Linked DNA regions of Homo sapiens: regions 2, 3, 4, 5 and 6 are each linked to region 1. The links are contacts of gene promoters, found by promoter capture Hi-C in human tissues and cell types (Jung and others, 2019). All regions are on one chromosome and are shown on one strand. The core of a region is centred on a gene start or on the middle of the fragment in contact, and the rest is flanking DNA. Distances in the headings are between cores, read along the strand shown. Region 1 holds the start of GPR20 (G protein-coupled receptor 20). Region 2 overlaps AGO2 (argonaute RISC catalytic component 2). Region 3 overlaps PTK2 (protein tyrosine kinase 2). Region 4 overlaps PTK2 (protein tyrosine kinase 2). Region 5 overlaps PTK2 (protein tyrosine kinase 2). Region 6 overlaps PTK2 (protein tyrosine kinase 2).

Region 1 (2,570 bases), core at 45-2,544:
ACTGCTGAGTGATGGAGTGGATGATTTTAGAATACCCCTCTGATCTCCTTGAGCCTCAGTTTCCTCATCTATAAAGAGGAGATGCTAATACCACTTAACAAGAAGACAATGAAGCCACCCCGTGGGCTCCAGGAGCTGCTCAGAAATGGTCCAAACTGCATGGCCCCCACGCCCGGCTCTCCAGCCGCAGACCCCGCCTTTGCTGATGGGCCCACACCGTGTGGCTCAGAGAGGGGCAGCGACTTGCCACGGCCACTCAGCAGACCGCCCTGGAGCCCAGCGACTGGATGAGTCCTGGGGGGAGAGGGGAGGGAAGACCCAGGATGACCAGCTGTTGAAGGAAGAAGACAGGGCAAGTGGACAGGCCCAGCCTCCTGCGGGGTGCATTCCCCGTCCTGCGAGGTCGCCAGCTGCTCCACGTCTGCCCCGCCAGCACCCTGGCTGCTGGCCAGTTCCCAGCCCGCTGCCCCCTCGGGACCCTGTCCTGCCGCCTTCTCACAGCGCAGTCCCAGTGCGAGCTTCGCGGGGCTGGAGCCAGCTTCTAGGTCCACACTGAGGGCTGGCAAGCAAGCCTTCCCTGGGACTCAGTTTCCCCACCCCTAAGGGGTAGAGACAGCACCAAGGCTACTGCAGAGGGCCTGAGCTGTGGGATGGCAGGACGGGCACTCTGAAGAGGGAGCATGGCGCTTGGAGCCCATGCCCACAAAGCCCTCACCATGGCCCTGCCCCAGCTGCGGGGTGGTGGTGGCTGAGGCCCCAGAGCCTGCCAAGTGCCTCTGGGGTCCCCCAACTCTGTCCCTGGCTTGGCCTGTGGGCCACCCTGCTGCCTTGCCAGGTGGGGAAACCAAGACCCAGCTCTGGGCACCCAGCAGATGCTCGGTGAGTGTTGAACGGAGGGATGAATGAGTGAATGAATGAAATCCAGAGTTGGGTGGGCACCTAGCAGCGCAGCTCCCCCTTATGCAGCCAGCCCAACTCACGCCCATGTTCTCCCTCAGGTCTCTGTTTTCTCATCTGAGAAATGGCTCCCTGTCCAGCAGGACCTGCTCTGAGCTCTCCCCAGCCCGGATCTGGAGGCAGTTTCTCTGCCCTGCCCTTCCCACTCCTGCTTGGCTGGGGGTGAGAACCCCTGCAGGGAGCAGCTCAGGAGCCTCCTATCTAGGGAAGCTGGGGAGAGGGAGGCTGGGGCCAGCCCACAGGGGAACTTACCGCGCTTCACCCGGGCAGGCTGGAGATGGGAGTCCTCAGCTCTCAGCTCTGCATGCAGCCCGGACCTCGCCTTCCTACGGCCTGACGTCAGGCCAGCGCTTGGGGCTCCTTTTGGGCAAAGGCAGGGTGGGGGCGGGGCAGGCTCCTTCCCCGCCCCCAGGAGGAGTCAAGGCTCAGAGCCTGAGGGACGGTGCCTGGGGCACCAGAGTCCCCACACCCACTGGAGACAGAAGAAGAAACCGAGGCACAGAGGGGCCTGGGGCACCAGAGTCCCCACACCCACTGGAGACAGAGGGGGAAACTGAGGCACCGAGGAGCTGAGCCTCAGCTGCACCATCCAGGAGGTGGTGGCTGGCACTTGTGTGTGCCGTGTGCAGGGCAGGAGGTGGGAAACTGAGGCACGGAGGGGCTAAGCCTCAGCTGCACCATCCAGGAGACAGTGGCTGGCACTTGTGTGTGCTGTGTGCGGGGCAGGAGGGGGAAACTGAGGCACGGAGGGGCTGAGTCTCAGCTGCACCATCCAGGAGATGGTGGCTGGCACTTGTGCGTGCTGTGTGCGGGGCAGGAGGGGAAAACTGAGGCACAGAGGGGCTGAGTCTCAGCTGCACCATCCAGGAGACGGTGGCTGGCACTTGTGTGTGCTGTGTGGGGGGCAGGAGGGGGAAACTGAGGCACGGAGGGGCTGAGTCTCAGCTGCACCATCCAGGAGATGGTGGCTGGCACTTGTGCGTGCTGTGTGCGGGACAGGAGGTGGGAGCACACGAAAGCCCAATTTCCTTCCCGGGAGGGGGCATGTGCATGGTAGCTTCAGCCCACGCAAGCCTGGGTTCCTGCATGGCTCTCTGTTTTGCATGTGTCCTGGGTTTGGCTGTGTCTGTGTGTACCCATGACCGACAGCCTGCACACCTGGCATCTGGGCCTCTGTTTGCACCCATGCACCGGTGGCATGTGGCATGTGGGGTCAGGTGTGTGGGAAAGACCTGGACGTGACCCAGGCCAGCAGGTGGGGAGAGCGTGTGGGACCCGGACCTCAGTGCTGGAGGAAGCGTGAGCTCATCAACAGGCTTGATCCCAGAGGGCTGCTGGAGGGCCACTCTCCCCAGACAGCTTCAGAGCCAGGAGGCCTTGTGGCCAGCCTGGGGTGGCAGCGGGGGTTGTCGGGGAGCGGTTGGGGCCATTTAGTTAGTGTCTCCTCTGCCGAGAGCACCATCTCCTCTTGTTCCCATCCCGTGTGCTTCTGCTGATACTCACACTTTAACCTTCCAGCCGCCTGAGTGCCGAGGCCCTGCTGAGTGGGTTGTACTGCACACCGGAGACTCAGGGAAGGCTCCCCAAGGGAGGGGCTGGGCCTTCCCGAGCTC
Region 2 (2,570 bases), core at 37-2,536, 740 kb before region 1:
AATGTGTGACCTCGGCTCCGGCTGTCACTGCAGGCCTCCAGCACCTTCTCTTCTGTCCTGGGTCACTGTATGAAGACTAAGGATTCGTGGGGAATGTGCTGCTTCCCTTCAGCGCAGGCGCCCGTGCCCGGGGCCAGGTGGGAAGGCAGAAAAGTCACTGTATGGGGGAAGTAAGGTTGGAGAGGATGCTAGTCATCCAGGCCAAAGTCCCCACTTAACAGGCGAGAAAACTGAGACCACACGAGGAGATGCGGACGGGGCTGCAGTTCTGACCAGACTCCTGTCTGTCCATCTCGATGACAGTGAGAAGATGAAAAAGGAGGGGGCCGGGCGCAGTGGCTCACACTTGTAACCCCAGCACTTTGGGAGGCTGCGGCAGGTGGGTCACTTGAATCCAGGAGCTCCAGAACAGCCCGGGCAACACAGGGAAACCCCGTCTCTCCACAAACTTAGCTAGGCACGGTGGTCCACAGCTGCAGTCTACCTGGGAGGCTGCCCAAAAGGGCTGAGGTGGAGCTCCGGAGCCCGGGGAGGTTGAGGCTGCAGTGAGCCATGACTGTGCCACTGCACTCCAGCCTGGGCCATGAGAGTGAGACCCTGTCAAAAAAAGAAAAGAAAAGAGGAGAGGGGAGGGGAGGGGAGCAGGGGGAAGAGGAGGGGAGGGGAGGGGAGCGGAGGCGAGGGGAGGGGAGCGGAGGGGAGAGGAGAGGAGAGAGGTGGGGCTTCCAGTTCCTGATCCAACCCACACAGCCCGGTTCCTGGCAGACCCAGGGAGGCCTGGCCCACCTCCCACACCCTGCTTCTCCCAGCTCACAACGGGGACACGCGTCAGCACCCTTTGGAAAGAACTACTGGCAACCTCAATGACACCACACTCACGCCCATCAGATTTTCTGAGGATTTCAGGAAGTGCAGTGCCATCAGGGGTGAACCAAGTTTAAAATGTTCCAGCCTGTTCATCTTTAAGCTACACACAAGCCCCAGATTTTAAAAACGCATTGAATCTGAGAGGCCGCCCGTCCACCCTGCTTTGCACGGACAGTTCTTGTGTCTGCCTTTCGTACCAGGGAAAGCTTACAGGTGCCCACTGCCCTGGAGGAAGCTCCCAGCACAAATGCTAAGTGTCTCCTCACCCTGGGTGCAGCTCTATGGAGACAGAAACTGGGAGGGCCTGGCGATTTGGTCACAACGTGTAAAGGACCAAGAACAAAGAGTGGTTTCAAGTTCCTAAACTTTTGGAGGAAAAAATTAGAATAGTGGCTACAGCGAACAAGTGCAGGCCCCTGACCGCAGCAGCAGGCTTGGGGCTCTCAATGTGTGGCGTGGGCCAGCAGATCCCCAGTGAGGAGGAGAGAGCAACCACAGGCAGCACAGAGCTGGCCACAAACGATAAGGGCAGAGATATGTGAAAGAGGGAGCCATTCCCAACCCAACACTGGGGAGAAAAGAATCCCTCTTATTTGAAATAACTGTAAGAGATAAACTGCACAAGAGCCTCCAGTTATCTTCCGTATTTGCCATAGGTCATACAGTGTCGCTTCTGCTGAAAGAGGACCACAAAAAGGATTCTGCTGCAACTGAAAACTCAAGATGCAAAGGGACCTGCCCCAACACTCTGCGTAACAGCCTGGGCAACATGTCAGGACTCCATCTCTAAAAAAGTAAAACACCTTCGCTGGGCATGGTGGCACATGTCTGCAGTCTCAGCTACTAGGGAGGCTGAGGTGGGAGGGCGGCTTGTGCCCAGGAGTTTGAGGCCGCAGTGAGCCATGACTGTGTAACTGCACTCCAGCTTGGGCAACAGAGAACAACCCCAACCCTCAGAAACAAACAAAACAAAACACCACTTAAATGTGTCAGAATTAAAACCATGAGCAACTGGGTCTCCAAACAGCCCCCCTCAACAAAACGGAGCCCAAAAAACAAAAATTTTGAGCAATGGGGCTCTTTCTAAAACCATTAAAGAAAAAACGGAGGGGGAGGGGAGGCACGAATGCTCTGAAGAAAAGAGATTTTAAAAGACGTAGGCCGGGCGTGGTGGCTCACGCCTATAATCCCAGCACTTTGGGAGGCCGAGGCAGGTAGATCACCTGAGGTTGGGAGTTTGAGACCAGCTTGGCCAACATGGTGAAACCCCATCTCTACCAAAAATACGAAAATTAGCCGGACATGGTGGCTTAGTCCCAGCTCCTCAGGAGGCTGAGGCAGGAGAATCGCTTGAACCCGGGAGGAGGAGGAGGTTGCAGTGAGCCAAGATGGTACCACTGCACTTCAGCCTGGGTGACAGAGCGAGACTCCGTCTCAAAAAAAAAAAAAAGAAAAAAAAGAAGACGTAAATATAACAAGTCAAATGCAGGGAGAAGAGAGAGGGTGGGCTAGCTTTAGAGGCGGAAGGCAGAGACCCAAATGTGTGTGTGAACTTTGGTTAAAATTCAGGATCCAAAGCACCCAACTGGAAACACACTTCTGAGAATATGAGAGAAATTGATCACAGACTGTTAACTGTCATAACGGCACTGGGGTATGTTCAAAACGTCTCCATTGCTTTAGACACGCATATTTAAATATCG
Region 3 (2,570 bases), core at 37-2,536, 700 kb before region 1:
TTGTCTGAATTTGGCCTATACTGTAAAAGTAGGCTGGCTTCAACTGTGAAAGCCACACCTAGTTGATCTTTATTTGGCAGGACTTGGCAAGAGGGATAAGAGATTTTTAAGAAGGAGAATGACAAAATCTAGAGAGATATTCTAGAAAGATGGCTCTTGGCGGCAATGTGGAGGCTGAATGGAAGGGCAGGGGAACAGACAAGAGGCAGATAAACCATCTAAGAGGCCATCTTCAGAGGAGAGGTGATGGTGGATGTGCAGGTGAACGGACCAACCTGAGACCTGATGAGAGATGGAAGGTGTGTGGTTGTTTGCATGTGTGTAGGGGATTGGGAACAGACATGCAAGTGCATGGTGTTGTCACTGACTGTGGAAGCAAACAAGGAAAGCAGACCGTTCTTGCCAATGGCAGACAGTTGGAGATCAGAGCTCAGGGCGGGGTTCTATAAAATCAACACAGATTTGGGAGGCATCAAATACTTGAATCTATGAGAATGAGAAGAACTACCAGAGTGAAAAAGTATTTTTTAATAAAACAAGTGGGTAGCACTTTGGGAGATGACCACACTCAAGGGTGGCAGGGAACAAAAGCCTGAGCAGAGGTCTTGGCAGGAGAGGAGTGAGTGAGGAAGCTCTGGGCCAGAGCAGGGGGTCTCAAGGGGGAGTTAGGACTGAGGGGAAAGCAGGGGCTCTGGCAATTAGGAGACCTTGAAGGGCTGTTACAGCAGAGAGAGTTCCAAACAGCTGGAGCACTGGAATGCTCTGAGCTGGCGCTGAGTGCAGCTGCCATGTGAGGAGGTGGCCCCATCAGGGATGGGCTGCTCTTTCAGGAAGTACAATGGGGACAGGAGGAGGCATGAGGACAGTGAAAGGCAGATGCAGGATCAAAGACAGGCTCCTCTTCTTTTCAAAAATGATTTAAGGCCAGGTGTGGTGGCTCACGCCTGTAACCCCAGCACTTTGGGAGACCGAGGTAGGAGGATGGCTTGAAGCAGGAATTTGAGACCAGCTTGGGCAACACAGTAAGACACTGTCTCTACAAAAAAATAAAGAATTAGCTGGGCGTGGTGGTATACAACTGTAATCCCAGCTACTTGGGAGGCGGAGGCAGGAAGATCACTTGAGCTCAGGAGTTGGAGGTTATAGTGAGCTGTGATGGAGTCACTGCATTCCAGCCTGGGTGACAGAGACAGACCCTGTCTCAAAAAAAAAAAAATTAATAATTAAAAAATACTGTATACAGGAGAGCAATTTGTGTATTGGAATCAGGGGAGATGAAAAGATTACTTTAGACTTTATCAACTAGAGTAGGTGTTGACAAATAGTCCCACTAAAATATCCACTTGGTAGGACACCATTTTCTTGCCTCTAGCATATGGAACTTCTCCACTTTGGGGCAAAACTGAGGCTTGTCATGGAAAGCCAGAGGCCCGGTGAAGCAGGTAAGTGAGAGAACCCCATTTGGTTGGGATGTGAAGTTACACTACAGCACCAGTCACAGGCCTTCTCAAAAACAAGTTAAAGGGTTTATGCATATGAATCAATGCCACTTACAAAGGAATCACCAACAGGAGTTGTGTCCAACCGTCCTTCAGAAGTCAATGTCCAGTTGGTCAACTGGAACATCCCCTGGACATCGTATGTCTCTGGGTATGATGCTGAGAAGGATTCAGCATTATTTATGTTGTATTCCTGACTGGAGATGCAAAATCTCAATCTCATCAGGAAGAAACAAATGTTTATAGGATATCCCTCAATCCAACTTTAAGAATACTCTATAAAATCACTGAGCCTATGTTTGTCAAAAATGTCAATGTCATGAAAGATAAAAAAAGGCTGAGGAGCTGTTTCAGATGAAAGGAGGCTGAAGAAAGCAACACCACGTGCAAAGTGTAATCCTGGTCTGGCTCTCACAGGCGACGGAAAAGTGCTACAGAGACAACCGACGACCCTGGAACGTGCCCTGCAGAGTGGGACAGTGCATTACATCATGTTAAAGTTCCAGAATGTGGTGATTGTGTGGTGGTTATGTAGGACAATGGCCTTGTTATGAGAAATATAAATGGAAATCTTAAAGGGGAAGAGGGCATGAGATACACAGCCATTCTCAAGCTGCTCGACAGCAGGAAGTGATGTGTGTACACACATAGACAATGGAGCAAGGTGACAATGTGCTGACATGTTAAAAGGCTGTGAAACTCAAAGGAAAGTTGGGAGTTCTCTCTATTAATCTTTTAACTTTCATATAAATCTGAAATGATTTCAAAATAAAAAGGACAAACAAAAAGTGTGTGCTGGGATGAAGAACTGCCCATGCTTCCCTAGAAATGAGAAAAGCAGGCAGCTGGAGTCAGCAGGGAGCAAGGCTGAAGCCTGCAGATCCTGGACTCTGTAGTGGGGACGCATCCCACATGCGTTTGTCAATCCCAACCACAGAATGTACACCCTAGGCTCAAAGACACTAAAACAAATGCAGGTGCTTCCTTTCATTTGTTAGTCATATAATTGAAACAAAATTGCCAAAAGGTAGCAAAAATGATAGTTGTTGCTGGGCTACAGTATTTTGGGTC
Region 4 (2,570 bases), core at 36-2,535, 610 kb before region 1:
AGGGATGGAGGCTGCTGTATGAGGGGGACCTCACTGAGCAGATGAGACAAGAGCAAAAAAACTAAAGGAGGGAGGAGAGGGAGCTGGCTAAGAAACAGCAGGGAACAGTGTATAGCGTGCTCAAGGAACATGAGCAAGCCAGTGAGGCTGGCACAGAGGGTGGAAGGTAGGAGGGTGAAGATGACAGAGTCAGAGAGGAACGGAGGGGCCAGACCACACAGGGCCTTCAAGGCCAATAGAAAGATGCGACTTTTACTCAAGTGAAATGGAGAGCCAAGGTAGGGTTTGGACATTGGAGTACCATGGCCTGACCCAAAATTTTGAAGGAGCATTCTGCTGTGGTACTGAGAAATGGCTGCAGAGAGGCAAGGTTAGAGACACAGGGAGTTCTGCGGGTGGCTACCACAGTACCCCAGGTGACAGGTGACAGGTGATGGTGGCTTGGACAAACATGGTAGCAGTGGAGGTGGAGAGAAGGGCTGAGATTCTGGTTATACTCTGAAGCTAGGGCAAAGGTGGCTCATGATGCAGGTGTGAGAGAGTCAAGTTCAGGTTTTTGACCAGAAAAACTGACAAGATGGAAGGGGAAGATCAGAAGCTCGGCCTGGGATGTAATAAGCTTGAGATGTCAGTAAGATAGCCAAGTCACACAGGTGAAGTGACCAGCAGGATACTGTGACTGGCGTTCAAGAAAGAAATCTGAACTGGACATAGAAATCCAGAAGTAGCCTAGCCCATGTGACTGGACGAAATCACCAAGGGAGATGAGAGAGGTCCAAGGACTGTGCTTTGAAGCTCTCCAACATGAAGAGGTCAGGGACAAGAGTGGAAAATGTCAAAGGAGACTGAGAAGGGGTGACCAGGAAGGCAGGAGACAAACCAAGAAAATGTGTTGCTCTGAAAGCCAAAAAGTCATTATGCACACTTACTATTGTCTTTCACATTATATCATTTTATATATTATAATTATACATAACACAGAGATAATATTGTCATTTACATAACTACTGTCTATTCTCCATCACTAAAATGTAAGTTTCAAGACAGCAAGTAACTTGCCTGTTTTGTCAAAAAATCCCCATTAGTATAGCACTGATGCATACTATATGCTCAGTAAAGATCTGCAGAATTAATTAATGCTATTAATATATTTCTTTTAAATGAAGATGTTCATTAATAAGTTAGATGTGTCATATTTTAAAAATACCTTAAATTGTGTTTTGCTTAACAAGTTAGCTGTCGCATACTTTCAAAATACCTTAAATACCTTTATTTATTTTAGACTTCACACTAGTTGTATACTATGTGTTTCCAGGAAATAAAACATTTTCAAACAAGAGAAATCTGAATGGTAAGAGAACTGTATCATCGACTCAGGGACTGCATTCCCTTTCTTCACCTCCAGAGGAGGCATGCCCATGTGCCAGATGCCTCAAGGAAGGGGTTCAGGTGGTAATGGTGACGTGGTCCTTGGAGGACAGAGTAGTTGGCTCACACAGAATGTGAACAAGAGCACAGAATACCCTATCTACTAAATGTTTGAGTTTACAACCTTAGAATCATTAACCGTATCTGTGCTAAAATATAACCACTTTGCTTTGAATGAGTCAGTCTTGTCTTCCTTAATTAGACTGTGTACTTCTTTAGGACCATGACCATGAATTCTTTTTCTAGCTAAATATGAGGCTGGCTGCAAGTAACAGGTATACGAGAAAACTGTATGGCTGGTATACTGTAAAACTGACCGAAAATGTCCATTTTATAGACGATCAGAGCAACAAAATCTTTGATAAGACCTTAAAACCATCATTAATCCTGTCAACTAATCAAATACTCAGTAAACATGGTGCTTTATTAAGACAGTCTAAGGAAATGCAAACAAAATACTGCTCTTTAAAGACCTAGGGTTTCAAATGAATGCTAAGTGTAAGATTCCATAGCTGGCAAATATACAAAATGCCAACATGAGCAGATTATGAGGCTCAGCCTTCGGTTTGGCGAATAGGACATGCGGCTAGTGGCCCCTAAAGTGGACAGCAGAGGTCTAGGGAATGCTGAACTGTTAGAAGGGCCAGTTACAGAGATCGGACTGCTGGAGAATGGGTCAGTTCAAAGTAAGTAAGACCAGAACGTGTGCAAAGGGTTTTTTCTAAAAACTAAAAAGTTACTAATTGGTAATTACTCAAAATAGATTTTTAAAATCTTCGTAAAATACAGGCAATATTTAGGGAAAAGAGAAGTTTTTCATTGTTCAATGAAAATACCACCTTGTGGCCACTATGCCTAGACAAGGGATGCAAGATTAGGCTCTGAATTAATAACAGCTAGTAGACGTTTAAAATATCTTAACAAATAAATGTAGAAAAAAGCTATTCTAGGATGAATTAAGAGAAAATTAGATTTAATAACGGATTTTAAGGCTGCGAATAATAATGAGAGAATGTGCCAGTGATCAGCAGGTGCTTGAAGGAAAGAAAAAACAAGCCTGATAATCTTGCCTAATAAAGAAAAAAATGTGTGCCAATCAGATAAACTTCATGTTTACTGACTCTCAGAATGAAGGTCAAAAT
Region 5 (2,570 bases), core at 33-2,532, 590 kb before region 1:
AATTCTAAGTCACAGGATGAGACAGGAGGTTGATAGAAGATACAAGTCATAATAAAGACCTTGCTGATAAAACAGCTTGTGGTAAAGATGCTGGCCAAAACCCACCAAAACCAAGATGGTGACAAAAGTGACCTCCAGTCATCTTCACTGCTTACTATATGCTAATTATAATGCATTAGCATGCTAAAAGACACTCCCACCAATGCCAGGACAGTTTACAAATGCCATGGCAAGGTCAGGAAGTTACTCTGTATGGTCTAAAAAGGGGAGGAACCCTCAGTTCTGGGAATTGCCCACCTCTTTCCCAGAAAACTCACTAATAATCCACCCCTTGTTTAGAATATAATCAAGAAATAACTGTAAGTATCCTTAGTCCAGCAGCCCACACTGCTGCTCTGCCTATGGAGTAGCCATTCTTTTATTCCTTTGCTTTCATTTTACCCTATGGATTTGCCTCAACTTCTTTCTTCAGCCAGATCCAAGAACCCTCTCTTGGGGTCTGGATCAGAACTCCTTTCAGGTAACACCATGGTATTTCCCTCTTTCGGGGGAACCAGGATTCAATGTAAAAGTGGGAACCAGGCATGGTGGCTCATGCCTGTAATCCCAGCACTAGGGGAGGCAGAGGTGGGCAGATCACCTGAGCTCTGGAGTTGGGAGACCAGCCTGGGAAACATGGCAAAATACTCTCTTTACAAAAATACAAAAGCTAGTCAGGCGTGGTGGTGTGTGCTTGTAGTCATAGCTACTTGGGAGGGTGAGGTGTGAGAACTGTTTGAGCCCGGGAGATGGAGGTTGCAGTGAGCCAAGATCACGCCACTGCACTCCAGTCTGGACAACGGAGTGAGACCCTGCCTTAAAAAAAAACAAAAACAAAAAGTGGGGTCCTTGATTTTTTTTAAGACGGGGTTTTGCTATGTTGCCCATGCTGGTCTCTAACTCCTGGGCTCAAGAAATCTGCCTGCCTCGGCCTCCCTGAAGTGCTGGGACTATAGGTGTGAGCCACCATACCAGGCCCTTGATTTTTATGCTGGGCCTTCCAGCTATGCCTGCTTTTCAAATATTTAAATACTAGGCCCTGAAAACTGCAAATGCTTTATTTGCCCAGTTCATTAAAGGGCTCCAACTTGAAGTCAGTAATCTAATTAAAAAACAAGCTAAGTTGAAAAGGACACCTATCAAAATAAATCAGTCTCCAAAATACAACTTTCTGACATTTAGCTGCTTATTTTGAAATCCTCTGTCAGAGAAATTTACACCTATAAAGGAAATTACCATTTTTAAGGGTATCTTCGCCCCTGCACCTAAACCACTAAAATATTATCTTCACATTCCTGGAATCTGTGATATAAAGAACAATGGACAATCAATAGTTTATTATTATTATTATTCTCATTGAGAGAGTCTTGCTGTGTCCATCCAGGCTGGAGTGCAGTGGCGTGATCTTGCTTACTATAACCTCCGGCTCCCAGGTTCAAGTGATTCTCGTGCCTAAGCCTCCCCAGTGGCTGGGATTACAGGCATCCGCCACCACACCTGGTTAATTTTTATATTTTTAATAGAGACAGGTTTCACCATGTTGGCCAGGCTGGTCTGGAATTTCTGACCTCAGGTGATCCGCCCGCCTCGGCCTCTCAAAGAGCTGGCATTAAAGGTGTGAGCCACCATACCTGGCCAATAGTTACATTATTTTAATGCCAATTTTTGGTAAACAATTTAAGAACTGTCTGTTCTTTTTTCCTTTACAAATCCACTTGTAATTGCTGCTAATCAGAGTACCTATATAGGACAACTTCAATCTATGACTTGGTCTTCTAAATATATTCCCAGTGTAAACCCTAAAGGAAAAAACTTAGGCAAAATTAATATAAGTACAGAGTTTATTTGCAGGAGCAATTTGGATTTGTTAATAGATTGGATATGGGAGAAGAAAACAAAGAATAGCATCAAAAATAACCCCAAGGATAATCTGACCAGCCAGAAGGAAAGTAGTGCCATTTAGTGAGTGGAGAAGGGGAGAGAAGCAGGCTTGGCGTGAATATCAGTTCCTTTTGAGTATATTAAGTCTGAAATGCTTATGAGACATCAGATTCCACATGGCGAGAACATAGTGGCCACGGGTCTGGAGTTCAAGAAAGAAGTCTGAAAAACTAAGATAACAATCTGAGAGTCAGCAGCATAATTAAGTCATGAAACACAATGAGATCCCCAAGGGTGTGACTGTGGCTGACACAAAGTGTCAGAAGAACTGAGTCCTGGGATCCTCAGGCGCGAAGTGCTGAATAATGAGTGAAGTAGGAAGAATATGGTATTCTGGAAGCAAAAGCAGGGCAATTTCAATAAGGAGCAACACTGAATCGCAATAACTCACATAAAGAGTTCTTCTATCATAAGCGGACCAGTGATGTCAGAAGGGGGCTACTAAGGCGGGGAAACCACAGTGGGTGATGTGCTAATGAAACCAGAGCTAACCTGATTAAGCCTGCCAAACTTAACCTGCCTTGTTTGCTGTATTAGGCCATTATTGTATTGCTATCAAGAAATACCGGAGACTGGGTAATTTATAAAGA
Region 6 (2,570 bases), core at 49-2,548, 570 kb before region 1:
CGCTTCAGCAGCACATAAGTGTTTTAATTATGTAATTAAATGTAACAGTTCTATTTTTATGTCTTCTGGAATTTATGCCATGCTTAGAAGCATTCACTCCCTCCCTTGAAATGCACAGTATTCACCATCATTCTATACACAGAAAACCTACTTACAATTATGTAATTACAACTCTATATTACACTATACACTTTCCTCTGAAAAAATGTTACTACAGAATTTTACTAACACTGCAAAATTGATTGTATACTTTCTTTCAGGTAAGGTGTAGGTTAGATAATGCCCTACAGAAAGGGCCAAGGTTATGCAGACTGTGGTGGAATGCAGTCCAGGACAATTTGGCTTGTGGCTCTTACTATGTTCTCCCCAGGAAAATCACCTTTTATTTTTATTTTTTAAAATTAATTTATTTTTTTTAGATACAGTCTTGCTATGTGGCCCAGGATGGTCTCAGATTCCTGGCCTCAGGGATTCTCCTGTGTAGCTGGAATTACAGACATGAGCCACTATGACAAGGTAACATCCCTTTTAAAAGCACTTTATAAATCCAAAGTAACTATGGTAGATCAAAGAACTAACAAAATGCATCTGGGCACACCCAATTCACATGTAGAATGTACTGATCACTTATTACTGTCATGCTATGTTATGCATATACATGTATACATGTATAAGTAGTTTATGATCTAGAGAAGACAGATGGGCATATATAATTATTATTTAAAGCATGTTTCCAGGAAAACGGTACATTAGAGTTGCAGAAACATGTTTAACATTTGAACTCTTAAAAAATCTCAATTAAAAAATGTACATGTGCTGTGTTCACATGTATTTTTGACTATAATCCACTAAAGATGTTTGACTTTAATATTATTTTAACTAGGCAATGTATCTTCACCTTAGGGATCTATGATGAAATAGTTATATAATACATAAACATGCTATGATTGAGAATAAGAAAATTACCAAGTTTAATAATTCATTTTATAAAGACAATATAAAATTGGAAACAACCAATGCCCTATCTAGCTTTTCATGACAAGCATTTTCATTAATGCTCTTTTCATATGAACAAAGAGCTTAAAAAGCATCGCATTTCATGTTTGATATCCAAATGTTTCTCCCTAGAGAGCAAAAAACGCTAGCTAATAGTGAAATCAACACAGGAAGATGTTTACGTTTTAAACATGGAAGGCTCATTTAATGCCTGACATCCGAATGTTATTTTTAAATGTGTATGTCAAGGACCTTTTGGTAAACTGAAGATAAAAGATGAAAAATTATTCACTAAAAAGGAAATGGGCAATCTATTACATTTAACATTTTTCCTAAATTACTATCTTTATGTAAAGAAATTATCTGAAAACATTTAAATAATATTTGTAAGGCATATACTCCTGTTTAAAGTATAAAGTGCGACACTGGAAGAAGAAAACGTCAAAAATAAAAATAAAAAATAAAGCACAAAGTGAAAAATCAAGACCTATAGCTGCAAAGGCTTTAACTGAGAGTAACTGTAGAGATTTCTGAAAGCAACTTCATTACTCTATTTTATACAAAGAAAACTTAGGAAAAATATATGAATAGGCTTATTGGTGTGATCACCGTGGGAAAACACTTTTCCTTTAGAAAAGCCATGTCCTGGAATCACACAGATTTATGTTTACTTAGCGAAGGCTCATGGCTTCAGCTGCTGTTTTCAGGGCACAGCACCATCAGTTACCTCTTTTGAGATACATAAATAAAGGGTCCAATGACTCCTCTCTATAAAACACACAACACTCACATGTACCTCCCATGCAAACACCATGCCTTCCTCAAACTGCTTTGTAAACAGAGCACTTCCCTGCTGGGCAAGGCTGGATCCTCTGCGTTTCTATCTGCTTCACTTGACCTTTGGCCTTTTCTCTATCCTCATCGCTGTTTAATACAATTCTGCTGACTTGAATGCACTCCACACAGCACTTCAGGACTTTTTTTCCTCTATAATCATCCTAGTCACTGAGGTGAGTGCTAGAAGGGGTATTGGCAAAACCCACATTCAGAGTCCCCACTTCCACAGCGTGAGCTGCTTTACAGTTACTCCTTGGGAGGTGTCTAACAACCCTACAAAATAGGTATCATTCTTTTACAGATGAGGTATCTCAAAGTCTAGGCTGATACAGTGTCAAGATCAGACTCAACTAGTAGCAACAACAGGAACAACAATACAACTAAAATCTAGGAGCATCAAGTGTGCCAGGCATAGTTCCAAGCCTATAAATAAGTCCTTTATCCTCCTAATACCATAGAAGACAGTTACTGTTCTTCGTGTTTGACCAGATGACAGAACTGAGGCTCAGAAAAGTAATTTATAGATGGTGTCACAGAGGACTCATGATTTGAACTTAAGTCCCATAATTCCCAAACTCAGTCTTTCCCTGCTTCACACTATGTATGCTATTATCCTGCTGGGAATATTTTCATTTGATTCTTTCAGAAATCCAAATCCTCAAAAGCATTCCTCATTATATGCTTGCAAAAACTCCACACCGCTTTTATAGTGACGTTTCTAGGATATTTATTCATTC

The links. The method cuts DNA at HindIII sites, captures the fragments that hold promoters and counts their contacts. A contact is called where the count stands out against the background at its distance.
Region 2: a fragment that was not itself captured here is called in contact with the fragment with the promoter of GPR20 in region 1 in 1 of the 25 tissues and cell types used here (spleen).
Region 3: a contact is called between a fragment that was not itself captured here and the fragment with the promoter of GPR20 in region 1, in 1 of the 25 tissues and cell types used here (lymphoblastoid cells).
Region 4: a contact is called between a fragment that was not itself captured here and the fragment with the promoter of GPR20 in region 1, in 1 of the 25 tissues and cell types used here (dorsolateral prefrontal cortex).
Region 5: a contact is called between a fragment that was not itself captured here and the fragment with the promoter of GPR20 in region 1, in 2 of the 25 tissues and cell types used here (IMR-90 fibroblasts and spleen).
Region 6: a fragment that was not itself captured here is called in contact with the fragment with the promoter of GPR20 in region 1 in 1 of the 25 tissues and cell types used here (lymphoblastoid cells).

Annotation. Positions count from the first base shown.
Region 1 is chr8:141,365,992-141,368,561 of GRCh38, forward strand. It overlaps GPR20 (G protein-coupled receptor 20), which reads right to left and starts at 1,295. Exons shown (of 2, transcript NM_005293.3): 1 at 1,210-1,295. RefSeq lists an enhancer at 2,058-2,570. The HindIII fragment of the contact is 55,577 bases long and covers 1-2,570 here.
Region 2 is chr8:140,629,234-140,631,803 of GRCh38, forward strand. The region is part of intron 1 of AGO2 (argonaute RISC catalytic component 2); the gene reads right to left. Among named protein-coding and RNA genes, the nearest start is that of ERICD, 3.7 kb to the right of the region's middle. RefSeq lists an enhancer at 1,305-1,805. The HindIII fragment of the contact is 7,062 bases long and covers 1-2,570 here.
Region 3 is chr8:140,661,094-140,663,663 of GRCh38, forward strand. All of the region lies in intron 35 of PTK2 (protein tyrosine kinase 2), which reads right to left. Among named protein-coding and RNA genes, the nearest start is that of AGO2, 27 kb to the left of the region's middle. The HindIII fragment of the contact is 5,799 bases long and covers 1-2,570 here.
Region 4 is chr8:140,752,754-140,755,323 of GRCh38, forward strand. All of the region lies in intron 19 of PTK2 (protein tyrosine kinase 2), which reads right to left. Among named protein-coding and RNA genes, the nearest start is that of MIR151A, 21 kb to the left of the region's middle. The HindIII fragment of the contact is 3,965 bases long and covers 1-2,570 here.
Region 5 is chr8:140,774,627-140,777,196 of GRCh38, forward strand. All of the region lies in intron 14 of PTK2 (protein tyrosine kinase 2), which reads right to left. Among named protein-coding and RNA genes, the nearest start is that of MIR151A, 43 kb to the left of the region's middle. The HindIII fragment of the contact is 8,167 bases long and covers 1-2,570 here.
Region 6 is chr8:140,797,428-140,799,997 of GRCh38, forward strand. All of the region lies in intron 12 of PTK2 (protein tyrosine kinase 2), which reads right to left. Among named protein-coding and RNA genes, the nearest start is that of MIR151A, 66 kb to the left of the region's middle. The HindIII fragment of the contact is 4,961 bases long and covers 1-2,570 here.